3 separate regions of the Homo sapiens genome follow, and regions 2 and 3 are each linked to region 1. The links are contacts of gene promoters, found by promoter capture Hi-C in human tissues and cell types (Jung and others, 2019). All regions are on one chromosome and are shown on one strand. The core of a region is centred on a gene start or on the middle of the fragment in contact, and the rest is flanking DNA. Distances in the headings are between cores, read along the strand shown. Region 1 holds the start of RRP9 (ribosomal RNA processing 9, U3 small nucleolar RNA binding protein). Region 2 overlaps DCAF1 (DDB1 and CUL4 associated factor 1). Region 3 overlaps ALAS1 (5'-aminolevulinate synthase 1).

Region 1 (4,446 bases), core at 425-2,924:
GTGGGCAGGCTCTGGGCCTGACTGGGGACTGCAGCTCACCTGGGTCCCGGGGTTGCTGCTGAGTGGACATGTTGGATCCACGCGGATTATGCGCTTCTCTGCGGGTATGGCCTTGAGGGCCTCAGCGGTGGAGCGGAAGGGGTCCTCCTCCCTTCCTGCCTGCCGGCCCTTCTTCTTCTCAGGGCCCTCAGTCTGTACCCAGGGCTTCGGCTTTGGAGCCATGGCTGTCCTGGGGCACAGAGAGGCCCTTAGGCCTCCATGGTCTCCTCATCCCCAACGACCCACTCTCAGTCCCCACCCCTGCCCTGGGCCAGCACAGCACCAACTTGCCCCACCCCGGGTTGGCCCTTCGGTGGCCTCCCACTGCATCCTGTGTCCACTCTGACGGCATTCCCAGCCCCAGACCACACCCAGCTCTTTGTCACTCAGAAACACCCCTTTCCCCAGTCCCAAGTGCAAGGTTAGGACTCTGTCCAGTCTGCCCACTCTGGTCAACAGGGTCTGCCTGGCTCCCTACCCTCTGCAGCTCACCTGTGTGTCCTGAGGGGTAGGGAAAGTGAAAGGAGGCTCTCTCTCTTCCACTTCGGGGCTCCTCCCCCTGTGTCAGCTAGTTCAGCCCTGGCATGGTTGCCGGGCCGAGTCACCGAGCTATGGGGGAGGGTGGGCAGAGGATCCTGGGGGCAGGATTCTTGGGGCCAGATTATCCTCCCGGAGCTTAGAACCCAGAGCTGTAGAAGCCCTTCCCAATGGACTCAAGAGTTCTGAGGAGCCAGAACTCCGGATCAGTGGCCTTGAACTGATAGAGGGCAAAGGCCAGTCCCACCAGGCCTTGCCCTGCCCTGCCGTGGGCAGGACCATAGGACACTCACCCAAGAAAAGCAGGGACATGGGAGAGGTCCTGGCTGCCACCCGGCCTGGTTGTGTGCGCCTCCCAGGGCAGTCCCAGGTCTAGCAACTCTCCATGAGCCTCAGGCGTGAATTAGGGAGAGAATTCCCAACAATCGCCAGAGGCCGGGGATGAGCTTGTGTGGGGGATTAGACATCGGCTATTTGGCCACCAGTGGGGTGAAGCAGAGGCTGGGGCAGGCCGAGTCAGGCGACCAGTCCCACGGACGGGTGGACACTCGATCTGGCATATCCAAGGCCGGGGCAGTCGCGTCCGTAGCGCTGCTCATGTGGCCGGGGCCTGCAGCACGCATCTGCCGGTCGCGCGGTGACCTTGGGCCCGGATACAGACGCAGCCTCCCTCTCCCCGGGGCTGCTTGGATCCCCGTTGGGTCTAGCGCCGGGCTGCCCATGGAGGGGAGGAGTCACGTTCCAGAACGCGAAAGGGCGCCGCGTCTCTGGCGCCCCCCAGCGGCCAAGGGGCGCAAACACAGAGAAGGCTCTTGCTCCGACTTCGAAGTGGGCCAGCAGCAGAGCGCAAGCGCCACAGCATCAGGCCGGAAGCGCCGTGGAGATGCGGGCTTCCTACTCGAGCCTGGTGCGGGAGCCTAGGAACTTCAGGAGGCGGGGCTACAAGCGTGCATCCTATGGGTGCCTGGGGGCGTGGCAGAGCCTGCAGAAGGACCCAATGGAGCAGTAGGAGGCGGGGCCCGGCGGGCGGTGGAAGCCTATCAATACGCGGGGTCTTGCCAGGCGGCTGGGGAGCTGGGAGGGTTCAGCTGCCACGTGAGTTCTGCGGCCGCTGCTACACGCCTGGTGGGCAGCATGTCGGCAACAGCGGCTGCTCGTAAGCGGGGAAAGCCGGCCTCTGGGGCCGGGGCTGGCGCGGGGGCCGGCAAGCGGCGGCGAAAGGTGAGCATGGCGCTTCTGAGGGCCGCGGTCAGCCCTGCTACTGGGACAACCGTCATCCCATCCAGGGGACCTGGGTCCCGGCCCTTCCCCAGCCCTTCGCCCTGGACCCCTGCTGGAGTCAGCTTCGTCCCTCTCTCCGCGGGCCAAATCCTAGAAAGCCGTTCGCTTAACCCGGGAACCACCGCCTTCCCCATTCCTGGGGTTCTGAGGGAACCGAGGGGGGGGGGCCCTTGGTCAATGCCAGGGTGGTCTGGACCCCTGACCAAAGAAAAGACCGTATAATTCCCAGGCCGACTCTGCGGGGGACAGGGGCAAATCCAAGGGTGGCGGCAAGATGAATGAGGAGATCTCCAGCGACTCTGAGAGCGAGAGGTGAGCTATTCTTTTCCACATAGTGGGAGGGAAAACTGAGTCCCATGGTGCACGGAAGACTGAGTGAGTCCGAACAGAACTGAGCCTAGAATCCAAGACTCTGTCCCTTGGCTCTGAGATCGTGGCTGTTTCCTTTAGTTTCTGGTCCTGCAAAGTCTTGTTTCTGCGAGGTCTCTGGGTGGGAAGGACCCTGGGCCCCAATCCGAGGCCATTGAGACCTCCTTAGGTTTTGGCAGGGACTGGACTGATTGAGAAATTGCAGGAAAACAGAACAAAGCTGTCAAGTATTTCTTGCATCCTTCTTCCCTTGCCAGTTTTCCTGCAATTTCACAATTACTGGGCTCCCCGTCTCTTAACATGCCAGGCACTGCCTTTGCTGTTGGAAGTGCAGAGATAGGCAGGCGGGTGAAGAGAGTGTGTTGTAGTGAGGTGTGTATTTTATAGTTGTGTGTTCTGGGAACAGAGGAGGGACATTTAAATAGGGTCTTGAGAGATGAAGAGGAGTCTCTCACGGAGAGGTAGGGAAGGCATTCAGTGATCAGAGGAAAGTCTGAGGTGTAAGTGTGCCAGAATGGGCAGTAGAAAAGATGAAAGGGGGCTGGGCCTGGTAACTCATGCCTCTAATCCCAGCACTTTGGGAGGCCAAGGCGGGAGGATTGCTTGATGTCAGGAGTTTGAGACCAGCCTGGGCAACATAGCGAGATCTTGTCTGTACAAAAAAAAAAAGTTAGCTGGGTATGGTGGTGTGCACCTGTAGTCCCAACTACTCAGGAGGCTAAGGTTTGGGGATCCCTTCCCAGGGAGTTGAAGCTGCAGTGAACTATGATCATGCACTGCTCTCCAGTCTGGGTGACAGCAAGATCCTGTCTCTAAAAAAAAACCACACACAAAAACAGGAGGACTGGTCATAAGTGCATGTAGATTGTAGAGGGCTTTGGATGCCTCCCTCATTTCTGCAGGTGATGGGTGTGGTTGCTTGCAGGTTTTCAAAGGGTCAGGCATGGTGTCAGGCCTGACCCTGTGGGTTGGAGGCTCTTGGACCAGAGAATCCTAGTGCCTTCCCTATGAGTTGACTTTAGAACTCGCTTCTAAAATTGAGTATGTGTTGCCTTAATTTGCTCATGGAAAGAATGTACTTTTTTTTTTTGTTTTTGAGACAGAGTCTCACTCTGTTGCCCAGGCTGGAGTGCAGTGGTGCGATCTCGGCTCACTGCAACCTCTGCTTCCCAGGTTCAAGTGATTCTCCTGCCTCAGCCACCTGAGTAGCTGGGATTATAGGCCTGCACCACCATGCCTGGCTAATTATGTATGTTTAGTAGAGATGGAGTTTCACCATGTTGGCCAGGCTGGTCTCGAACTCCTGACCTCAAGTGATCCGCCCATCTTAGCCTCCCAGAGTGCTGGGATTATAGGCGTGAGCCACCACACCCAGCCATTAATGTACTTTTCTTAATCCGAAGGTTATTGTGGGTGAGTGTGTGCCAGGCTAGTGTGGGCTAAGTGCTTTTAAATATTTTTAGAATGTTGTGTTGTGAAGTGTGTTAGATACAGAAAAGTGAATGAGATATATTTGCACTACAGAGAGTAATGGTAAAATGGTAAACCTCTGTACACTTACTTACCACTTAGGTTAAGAACTAGAACATTTGCAGAAACTTAGAAGCCGCAACTGTCATTCCTAACTTGAGTTAATCATTTCTTTGGTTTCTTTGTTCTTCTTTTAAAAAATTAACATTTTCCATTTAGGTATAATTTACATATAGTAACATGCCCTTTTTAAAGTTATAGTTCAGTGAGTTTTGACAAACACACACAGTTGTGTGACCACCTCTACCCTGAAGGTAAAGAGTTTCATCACCCTCCAGAACTCCTCCTGCTCCTTCGTAGTCAGCCCCTCTCCTTCCCCCCAAGTCTCTGCTAACCACTGCCCCTAGAGTTGTGCATTTTCTAGCATGCCCTGTAAATGGAATCATAGTGTGTACTTCCCTTGCATTTCTTTAGCGTTCTGTCTCATGCGTATGAATCCTTCAACAATAGATTAATTAGTTTGGCTAAATTGAGTAGAAGTCCGAAGTTAACACAGGTCCCTTGGCTGTGTAAGGGAAGGGCAGCACTAGCCCTGTTGGCTGAAGGCTTGCCAGGCACAGGGCACTAAATTATTTCTGGGGCATGGTCCAGCTTTGGCTTTCCTGAGAGTTTTCAAGGTCCCTTCTGGGGAAGTCAGGGGCAGGTTTACGAGTGAGTCTTGGGAAACACGGTTAGGGGAGTGGACAGAGA
Region 2 (4,446 bases), core at 663-3,162, 460 kb after region 1:
GTGGGTGTCTTATTTGGTCCTCCAAAGCTCACCTCAGCTCCCTGCCCTTCTGCATTCCTAGTTTGAACCACTCAACCCAGCCAACCTTCTCTGCCTCTCTTCTAGCCTCTTCTTTCCAGGAAATCAGCTGTGAGAGAGGTTAGGAAGCTTGAAGGATAAATGAGTTTTATAGTGTTCCTTCTCCACTTTCATGCTGGCAGTAGTGTCCATTTCATTTCTTGGCCTTCTCTTTAAGAATTAACAGAGCTGGGCGCGGTGGGTCACGCCTGTAATCCCAGCACTTTGGGAGGCTGAGGCGGGTGGATCACCTGAGGTCAGGAGTTCGAGATCAGCCTGACCAACATGGTGAAACCCTGTTTCTACTAAAATACAAAAATTAGCTGGGCGTGGTGGTGCATGCCTGTAATCCTAGCTACTTGGGAGGCTGAGGCAGGAGAATTGCTTGAACCCGGGAGGCAGAGGTTGCAGTGAGCCGAGATTGTGCCATTGCACTCCAGCCTGGGCAGTAAGAGTGAAACTCTGTCTCAAAAAAAAAACAAAACAAAAAACGGAGTTTGAGACTAGCCTGGCCAGCGTGGTGAAACTGCGTCTCTACTAAATGTACAAAAATTAGCCAGGCATGGTGGCGGGCGCCTGTAATTCCAGCTACTCGGGAGGCTGAGGCAGGAGAATTGCTTGAACCCGAGAGGTGGAGGTTTCAGTGAGCCGAGATTGTGCCATTGCACTCCAGCCTGGGTGACAGAGTGAGACTCCATCTCAAAAAAAAAAAAAAAAAAGAAAAAATTAAACAGGAGTGTGCCATGCTGTTTATCTTTGATAGAACTTCCCTCAAAGGACTAACGAGCAAAATATTTTGGGAGTAGTTTTGGCCACATTTTGTGCTTAAAAAAATGTAAGCACAAAGTTTTAGACCTCAGAGATCTAGGCCTGGGATTATTGTATATATTACAGGTAGGCATTAGGTAAATCTATTTTTTTTTCTTTTTGAGACGGAGTCTTGCTCTGTCGCCCAAGCTGGAGTGCAATGGTGTGATCTCGGCTCACTGCAACCTCTACCTCCCAGGTTCAAGTGATTCTCCTGCCTCAGCCTCCCAAGTAGCTGGGATTACAGTCACCTGCCACCATGTCCAGATAATTTTTGTATTTTTAGTAGAGACAGGGTTTCATCATGTTGGCCAGGCTGGTCCCGAACTCCTGACCTCAGGTGATCCACCTGCCCCAGCCTCCCAAAGTGCTGGGATTACAGGTGTGAGCCACCATGCCTGGTGGTAAATGCATTTTTGATGAGGGAAAGGTACCATATTTTTTGTCTCATTTTCAAAGGGACTCCTCAAAAGGTTAAGAATCACTGTTTTGATCCAGCTTCTTGCCTCATTTGACAGTTGAAGCTGAGGCTGAGAAAGGCGAAAGTACTTGTTCATCACTACTGAATGGGTATCTAGGCTTGATGAGTATCCCGAGTTTTCTGCTGTACCACAAATAAATCCAAAGGGTTCAAGGGGTTAAATTTCCCTTTTTAATTTTTTCTCTTGCCTTCTCGTCCTTTTCTACCCCTTCTTCACTTTTATTTGCTTGTGTTCATTTATTGGTTGTCTTTTTTATTTTTATTTTTGCTTCCTTAGGCAAAGCCATGACTACAGTAGTGGTACATGTGGACTCCAAAGCTGAGCTCACTACCCTGCTGGAGCAGTGGGAAAAGGAACATGGCAGTGGGCAGGACATGGTACCTATCCTTACCAGGTATGAATAACTTTTTTAAAACCTAGTTTAATAAAAAACCTCGGACACAACTCATACGCTAGATTTCTTCATACACACACACACACACACACACACACACACACACACAAACTAGTTTAAAAAGAAGCAAAAATTGGTGTGGAGAATAGCATAGGAACATTTTCACCTAGACTGTAAATTCTAAATCAATTTTTTTCTTTCCTCAGATTTAGTCTTTATCTCCCTACTTCCTGAAGCTGTTTAATTTTCTTATTTAATTTAATTTAATTTTTTTTTTTTGAGTCAGAGTTTTGCTTTGTTGCCCAGGCTGGAGTACAATGGTGTGATCTCGGCTCACTGCAACCTCCGTCTCCTGGGTTCAAGGGGTTCTCCTGCCTCAGCCTCCCAAGTAGCTGGGATTACAGGCTCCCACCACCATGCCCGGCTACTTTTTATATTTTTTAGTAGAGACGGGGTTTCACCATGTTGATCAGGCTGGTCTCGAACTCCTTACCTTAGGTGATACACCCGCCTTGGCCTCCTCCCAAAGTGCTAGGATTACAGGCGTGAGCCACTGAGCCTGGCTTTTTTTTTTTTTTTCATACGGAGTTTTGCTCTTGTTGCCCAGGCTAGAGTGCAATGGCGTGATCTCAGCTTACTGTAACCTCCGCCTCCTGGGTTCAAGCAATTCTCCTGCTTCAGCCTCCTGAGTAGCTGGGATTACAGGCGTTTGTCACCACGCCCAGCTAATTTTTGTATCTTTTTAGTAGAGACGGGGTTTCACCATGTTGGTCAGGCTGGTCTTGAGCTCCTGAGCTCAGGTGATCCACCTGCCTTGGCCTCCCAAAGTGCTGGGATTACAGGTGTGAGCCACCATGCCCAGCATATTTTTAAATTAAAAAAATAAAAATAAAAAAAATTAGACTCATTTCCCAACTGTTTGGTGAATGTATCTTTTTTTTTTTTTTTTTTTTTGAGATGGAGTGTTGCACTGTCTCCTGGGCTGGAGTGCAATGGCACGATCTCGGCTCACTGCAACCTCCGCCTCCCGGGTTCAAGTTATTCTTCTGCCTCAGCCTCCCGAGTAGCTGGGATTACAGGTGCACGCCACCACACCCGGCTAATTTTTGTATTTTTAGTAGAGACGGGGTTTCACCATGTTGGCCAGCCTGGTCTTGAACTCCTGAGCTCAGGTGATTCACCTGCCTTGGCCTCCCAAAGTGCTGGGATTACAGGTGTGAGCCACTGCGCCCGTCCTGGTGAATATATCTTTACCTGGCTCTTCTGGCTCTGTTTTTTTGGAGACAGGGTCTCACTCTGTCACCAGGCTGTAGTGGCATGATCTCAGCTCACTGCAGCCTTGATCTCCTGGACTCAAGCCATCTTCTTACCTCAGCCTCCCTACTAGATGAGACCACAGGTGTGCACCACCACACCTGACTAATTTTTAAATTTTTTGTAGAGGGAGGGTCTCCCTGTGTTACCCAGTCTGGTCTTGAACATCTGGGCTCAAGCAATCCTCCTGTCTCGGCCTCCCAAAGTGCTGGGATTACAGGCGAAGCCACAGTGCTGGCCTACTTGGCTCTTCTACAGATACCTGAAACAGACCATGTCCAAAATTGAGCTTATCATCCTCATTTCTGTGTGTCTCCTCATTTATTCATAACTTAATGCTTTTTTTATTCCCTACCTTGGTTTTAAACTGAATGGTTTTAAACTGAAAAACTTTTTTTGTTTTTATTTTTTGGGGGGATGGAGTCTCACTCTGTTGCCTAGGCTGGAGTGCATTGGCATGATCTTGGCTCACCACAACCTCCACCTGCCAGGTTCAAGCAATTCTCCCTGCCTCAGCCTCCTGAGTAGCTGGGATTACAGGTGCCCGCCACGACGCTGGCTAATTTTTGTATTTTTAGTAGAGGTGGGGTTTTGCCATGTTGGCCAGGCTGTTCTCGAACTCCTGACCTCAAGTGACCTGACTGCCTCGGCCTCTCAAAGTGCTGGGATTACAGGCGTGAGCCACTGTGCCCGGCATATTTTACCTTTCATTTTTTTTGAGACGGAGTCTTGCTCTCTGCCCCAGGCAGTGGTGCGATCTTGGCTCACTGCAACCCCCACCTCCTAGGTTCAAGTGATTCTCCTGCCTGAGCCTCTGGAGTAGCTGGGATTACAGGCATAAGCCACCATGCTCGGCTAATTTTTCTGTTTTTTTTAGTAGAGATAGGGTTTTGCCATGTTGGCCAGGCTGGTCTTGAACTCCTGACCTCAGGTGATCCACCCACCTCGGCCTCCCAAAGTGCTGGGATTACAGGAGTGAGCCATTGCGCCTGGCCTGCATTAGGTATTGCTCATGTCTTGACTGGCCCATTAAGCAGTGTGCCTTATAAGTTTACCCTCCAGTTTACCCTCTTTTAATACATCCTCCCCCTTGCTGAAAGATTCCTTTTTCTCATACACAAATAGGATTTTCCTACCTTCATTCATACCTACATTCTTCTCCGACTTCCTTTTTCCTACAGAGTAAAATGTAAAGTTTTTAGTGTGGCCTATGTGGCCATTTATGATGTGGCTTACTTTCATAATATTGTAGTTCTTTCGCTGTAAAAAGTAAGAAATCAATGCATAAAAAGTTGTTTTCACAGCTATGATATTGGGGATGGGATGTTGAGGATTCCCACGTTCCAGTGACCTTCTCCTTAGAAAACCCATGAGCACCTCTACCCAGCCTTT
Region 3 (4,446 bases), core at 933-3,432, 260 kb before region 1:
GCTAACATGGTGAAACCCTGTCTCTACTAAAAATACAAAAAATTAGCTGGGCGTGGTGGCAGGCGCCTGTAGTCCCAGCTACTCAGGAGGCTGAGGCAGGAGAATGGCGTGAACCCAGGAAGTGGAGCTTGCAGTGAGCCGAGATCACGCCACTGCACTCCAGCCTGGGTGACAGAGGGAGACTCCGTCTCAAAAAAAAAAAAAAAAAAAATTAGCCAGGCGTGGTGGCAGGTGTCTGTAGTCCCAGCTACTCGGGAGGCTGAGGCAGGAGAATGACGTGAACCCGGGAGGCGGAGCTTGCAGTGAGTCGAGATCGCACCACTGCACTCCTGCCTGGGCAACAGAGCGAGGATCGGTCACAAAAAAAAAAAATTAAAAAACACAACAAAACACCATACTTTTAAAGAGTTCAGGCATAGTTTTTCATCTTAGGTTTCAGAGGAACCTCTATCCACACTTACCATCCATTGAATGGACAGTTTCAAATGCCACAATCTTGGGGACTGAGGGGTCAGATCTTTGCAGCAGTTCTCTGAGGTGGCTGACATCATTGTGGCGGAAGATGTACTTTGGCACTCGGCTGTTTCGAATCCCTTGGATCATGGAGGCATGGTTCCCAGAATCAGAGTAAATCTCACAGCCTAAGACAACAAAAATGCTATTTATTGCCATGTGCATCGAAGACAAATTATTTCCTAGAGAAAGACAACAGACTTTTCCTTGGAAATGATGCTTTGAAAATGCCTAGTAGGAAAAAGACACTGTGTGCCAGTTTCTTCCTGGCAAAATAACTAGTTAGTGCTTCCCTTGTGAGAAGGCCCAAAGGTGTAGAATAACCTTGTGGCAGGCCATTAATCTGCTCTTAAATCTGACTGCCTCACTCCAAACTCAATCAAGAGCTAACTAAATGATTAAGAGACTTCTCCAAAGGATCATCTTAGAATACAAAACATATTTGAGGCAATTAGCTCAAGGATGAGACGTTTCAAGTTTGAATTTTCACTGGTATCACGTTCTCCTGGAACCCATAATGTACAGTCAGCATTTCATGCTTGACCCCAGAACAAATGCCCAGATAGGATTATGATTTTCAATTGAGAGGTTCTGGTAAGGCTTCTTTGTTGCCAATATTCTTGTTATTACTAAGAAACCCAAAAAACTCGAAGGCACTCATGCCAGGCTTCCTTACCTGGCATCATCTTAGCCAGGGTGAAGAGGGTTGAGTCATTGGCCACAAAGCACGAGGAAAACAAGAGTGCGGCATCTTTCCCATGGAGGTCTGCCAGCTCCCGCTCTAAGTCCACATGGAATTTACTAGTTCCAGAAATATTTCTAGTACCACCTGCCCCAGCACCATGTTGTTTCAAAGTGTCCCTGTTTAAAAATACAAACAAAACCAGAAAATAAAGCTCATGGTTCTCAACACCATGTGAATTTTTTCCCCTTTCTAGGATCCAGGAGACTGAAACATGTTGATGTAGCAACTCTCTCACTGTGAAACCTGGGGTCAGAAATTTCAACTGATTTCATCTTCAGACTAGGTGGGAGAAGGTGTCAATGCTAGGGTGATGATACCTCCAGGAATCATCAAGAACAAGTGTTCATTTAACAGTCAGTAAGTGCTTGGTATTAGCTGAGTTTCTTTTCTAAGAAACTAAGGTTTATTTTCTGAGAAACATTATTCTTTCCAATAACATGTTAGCTTAAGAAAAAGCAAACTCTAGAGGGACATCCTGGATGGTGGTTACCCTCTGCAAGCCAGTCATGTAATGTTTGGATATATCACTATCATTAAACCTCAAACCGGGACCCTCTTTAGCAAGCCTTTGGAGAATCTGGCCAGCAACTCTCTCCAGCATCCCTAGGATGGTGAGCCTCCTGAAGGACGAGTGATGGGATCTACCATCCTTTTTAACATGTCTTTTGGAGTAGCTTTTTCTCTAGCGCTGCTAGATTCGTATTTCTCCACTCACAGCCACAACCAAGGATGTCTCTGTGAAAGACTGCCTGGTGTTAAAGGCACACTCACTTGCAGAGTGATAGAAAGTGGACTGACGTGTGTGGTCATTGAGCCTATAAGCTTGAACCCTCACAAGTTAAGGGGCTCCAGCAGCTACCTGCATATTAGAGTTCCTTTAAAAGTAATCTGTAGATATTTTTCAGAAGCTAAGAATAGTATTTTGCTATGGCACACTTTCAGCTACTGAATGTTCCCTCCATAAAAGATCCAACCCCTATACATCATCATTGGCTTGCCAAATAACAACAGTAATATTTGAAAGCCAAGGGCTACTTACATAACTGCCCCACACACCCGTGGGTGGCGACTCATTCCTAGGTAGTCATTACTGCACCAGACTGACACTTGCTTTTTGGTGATGAGGGAGTCTGAATAGTCATCTGCCATGGGGAAGATGTGTGCTCGCCGGTTCACAGTTTTAAAAACTCGATAGGTGTGGTCATTCTTTTTCTCATCAATTTTTTTCTCAAAGAAACGATCATACTGAAAAGTGGAAACAGCTAAAAATTGAACAAAAGACAGTACAGAATGGTGGTTGTGAAACACAGCTGCATTTTGGTGAAATACAACAAGTCTCAGCTTGGCAACTGAGGGAGATCCTGGGCAGGTTATTTGATGTCCTCATCTTGTAAGTAAATAAGACTGTATGTCGTGTTTGGCTCAGTGCCATGTGTAGACGGTAAGTATTAAAGGACAGAAGGCAGGCTACCAACAGCACCTGTAGTCACCACAACCAAAAGCACCTGCTCACGCAAGCAAGGGATATGGCTTTCAAGCCTCAACTCACCATACATTTTTTTGTTTTTCCTAGAAACTGAGTCTCTGTCTGTCATTCAGGCTGGAGTGCAATAGCGTGATCATAGCTCACTGAACCTTGAAGTCTTGGGCTTAAGCAATCTTCCTACCTTAGCCTCCTGAGTAGCTGGGACTATAGATGCAAGCCATCATGCCTGGCTAATTAAAAAAACTGTTTTGGTAGAGATAGTGTCTTGCTATGTTGCCAAGGCTGGCCTCAAACTCCTGGCCTCAAGTGATCTTCTCCCGCTTCAGCCTCCCAAAGTGCTGGGATTACAGGTATGAGCTACTGTGCCCAGCCTCACCATGCAATTTTATATTTAATCTAATGTACATTTGAATTATAAATTCTTTTCTACATCAGGCAAATAACAATGAGACTTACATTTTGGCAAGTTATCTTGAAGAAGATGAGACACTCTTTCTGGTCTTTGCTTTTGCATGATGTCCTGGAAGTTCTTCAGCAGTCCACTGGGATCCCCTCCATCGGTTTTCACACTAACCACACTGGGGCCTGCTGAGGTTTCAGCAACCTCTGGAACAAAAGTAACAAGAAACAAATGGGACCAACTTTCTATTCTGAGTTCACAATATCTTCCAAACATATTGTCAAAAATGGCTTATGGCCTAGTTCACAAAAAAGGCCAAGCATAACCAAAGTTAGTTATAACTGAGTGTACAAAGCATCTCTTCTATTTTAGTTACTGTAATGGCAGACTCTTGGTGTTGTTTTCAGAGCTACTGGCCAGCTTTAATGAACAATAAAGTCCAAAGCTTTCTTGCTGGTTGGCATGTCTTATTCACTCCACTACATCCCCACCCCAATCCTAATCTCAATTTTCTGTTTTTTTTTTTTTGAGACAGAGTCCCATTCTGTCACCCAGGCTGGAGAGCAGTGGCACGATCTCGACTCATTGCAACCTCTGCCTCCTGGGTTCAAGCGATCCTCCCTCCTCAACCTCCTGAGAAGATGGGACTATAGGCATGCGCCATCATGCCCAGCTAATCTTTGTATTTTTGGTAGGGATGGGGTTTCCCCATGTTGGCCTGGCTGGTCTTAAACTCCTGGCCTCAAGTGATCCACCTGCCTCGGCCTCCCAAAGTGCTGGGATTATAGGTGTGAGCCACTGGGCCTGGTCCTAATCTCAATTTTCTTCATAGAAAACAATTTTGGCCATATGCATAATTTCTGCTGGTTAGGCTTTTGGGGAGCCTTGAGTTCTCTGCAGATATAGCCACACCTATATATTGTGGAGTTAAGGTTGCAATTCAATGACCATCAGTAAGACACACGGCTTGGGAGCCCTAGGACCAGCACTTACTGCAGTAAAACCATTATTTTCTATCTTTATCCTAGCAGATGATGGGAAAGACCAAAGGGACAAAAGGCAGCTGGTGGCAGCTCAAGACTGCAGGTTATTTTCAGAAATTAAGTAGTAACTATAAAAGCTGGTCACATCCCACACACGCACCAGAAAGAAAGTCCCACTTTCGCAATACAGTCCCTTGACTGTCTATCTTGAAGACCTTCCTCTCTGGCCCTAAAAGAGGAAGGTGTTTCCATAAATACTGCCCTAATAATAGCTCATACACAAATCTGAGGGCCCAAAAGAACTAAAAGGACCCCTTCA

What was found. Contacts are between HindIII fragments. The study calls those that stand out against the background at their distance.
Region 2: a contact is called between a fragment that was not itself captured here and the fragment with the promoter of RRP9 in region 1, in 1 of the 25 tissues and cell types used here (dorsolateral prefrontal cortex).
Region 3: a fragment that was not itself captured here is called in contact with the fragment with the promoter of RRP9 in region 1 in 1 of the 25 tissues and cell types used here (dorsolateral prefrontal cortex).

Annotation. Positions count from the first base shown.
Region 1 is chr3:51,939,132-51,943,577 of GRCh38, reverse strand. RRP9 (ribosomal RNA processing 9, U3 small nucleolar RNA binding protein) reads left to right here and starts at 1,674. Exons shown (of 15, transcript NM_004704.5): 1 at 1,674-1,797; 2 at 2,087-2,169. The coding sequence starts at 1,711. It overlaps PARP3 (poly(ADP-ribose) polymerase family member 3), which reads right to left and starts at 1,215. Exons shown (of 11, transcript NM_001003931.4): 1 at 870-1,215; 2 at 40-224. The coding sequence starts at 222. RefSeq lists enhancers at 1,210-1,539, 1,664-2,312. The HindIII fragment of the contact is 37,282 bases long and covers 1-4,446 here.
Region 2 is chr3:51,481,013-51,485,458 of GRCh38, reverse strand. DCAF1 (DDB1 and CUL4 associated factor 1) reads left to right here. Exons shown (of 25, transcript NM_001387579.1): 3 at 1,623-1,740. The coding sequence starts at 1,631. Among named protein-coding and RNA genes, the nearest start is that of DCAF1, 17 kb to the left of the region's middle. The HindIII fragment of the contact is 7,292 bases long and covers 1-4,446 here.
Region 3 is chr3:52,202,767-52,207,212 of GRCh38, reverse strand. It overlaps ALAS1 (5'-aminolevulinate synthase 1), which reads right to left. Exons shown (of 12, transcript NM_000688.6): 5 at 3,201-3,350; 6 at 2,298-2,520; 7 at 1,190-1,374; 8 at 462-641. Among named protein-coding and RNA genes, the nearest start is that of ALAS1, 6.8 kb to the right of the region's middle. The HindIII fragment of the contact is 7,206 bases long and covers 1-4,446 here.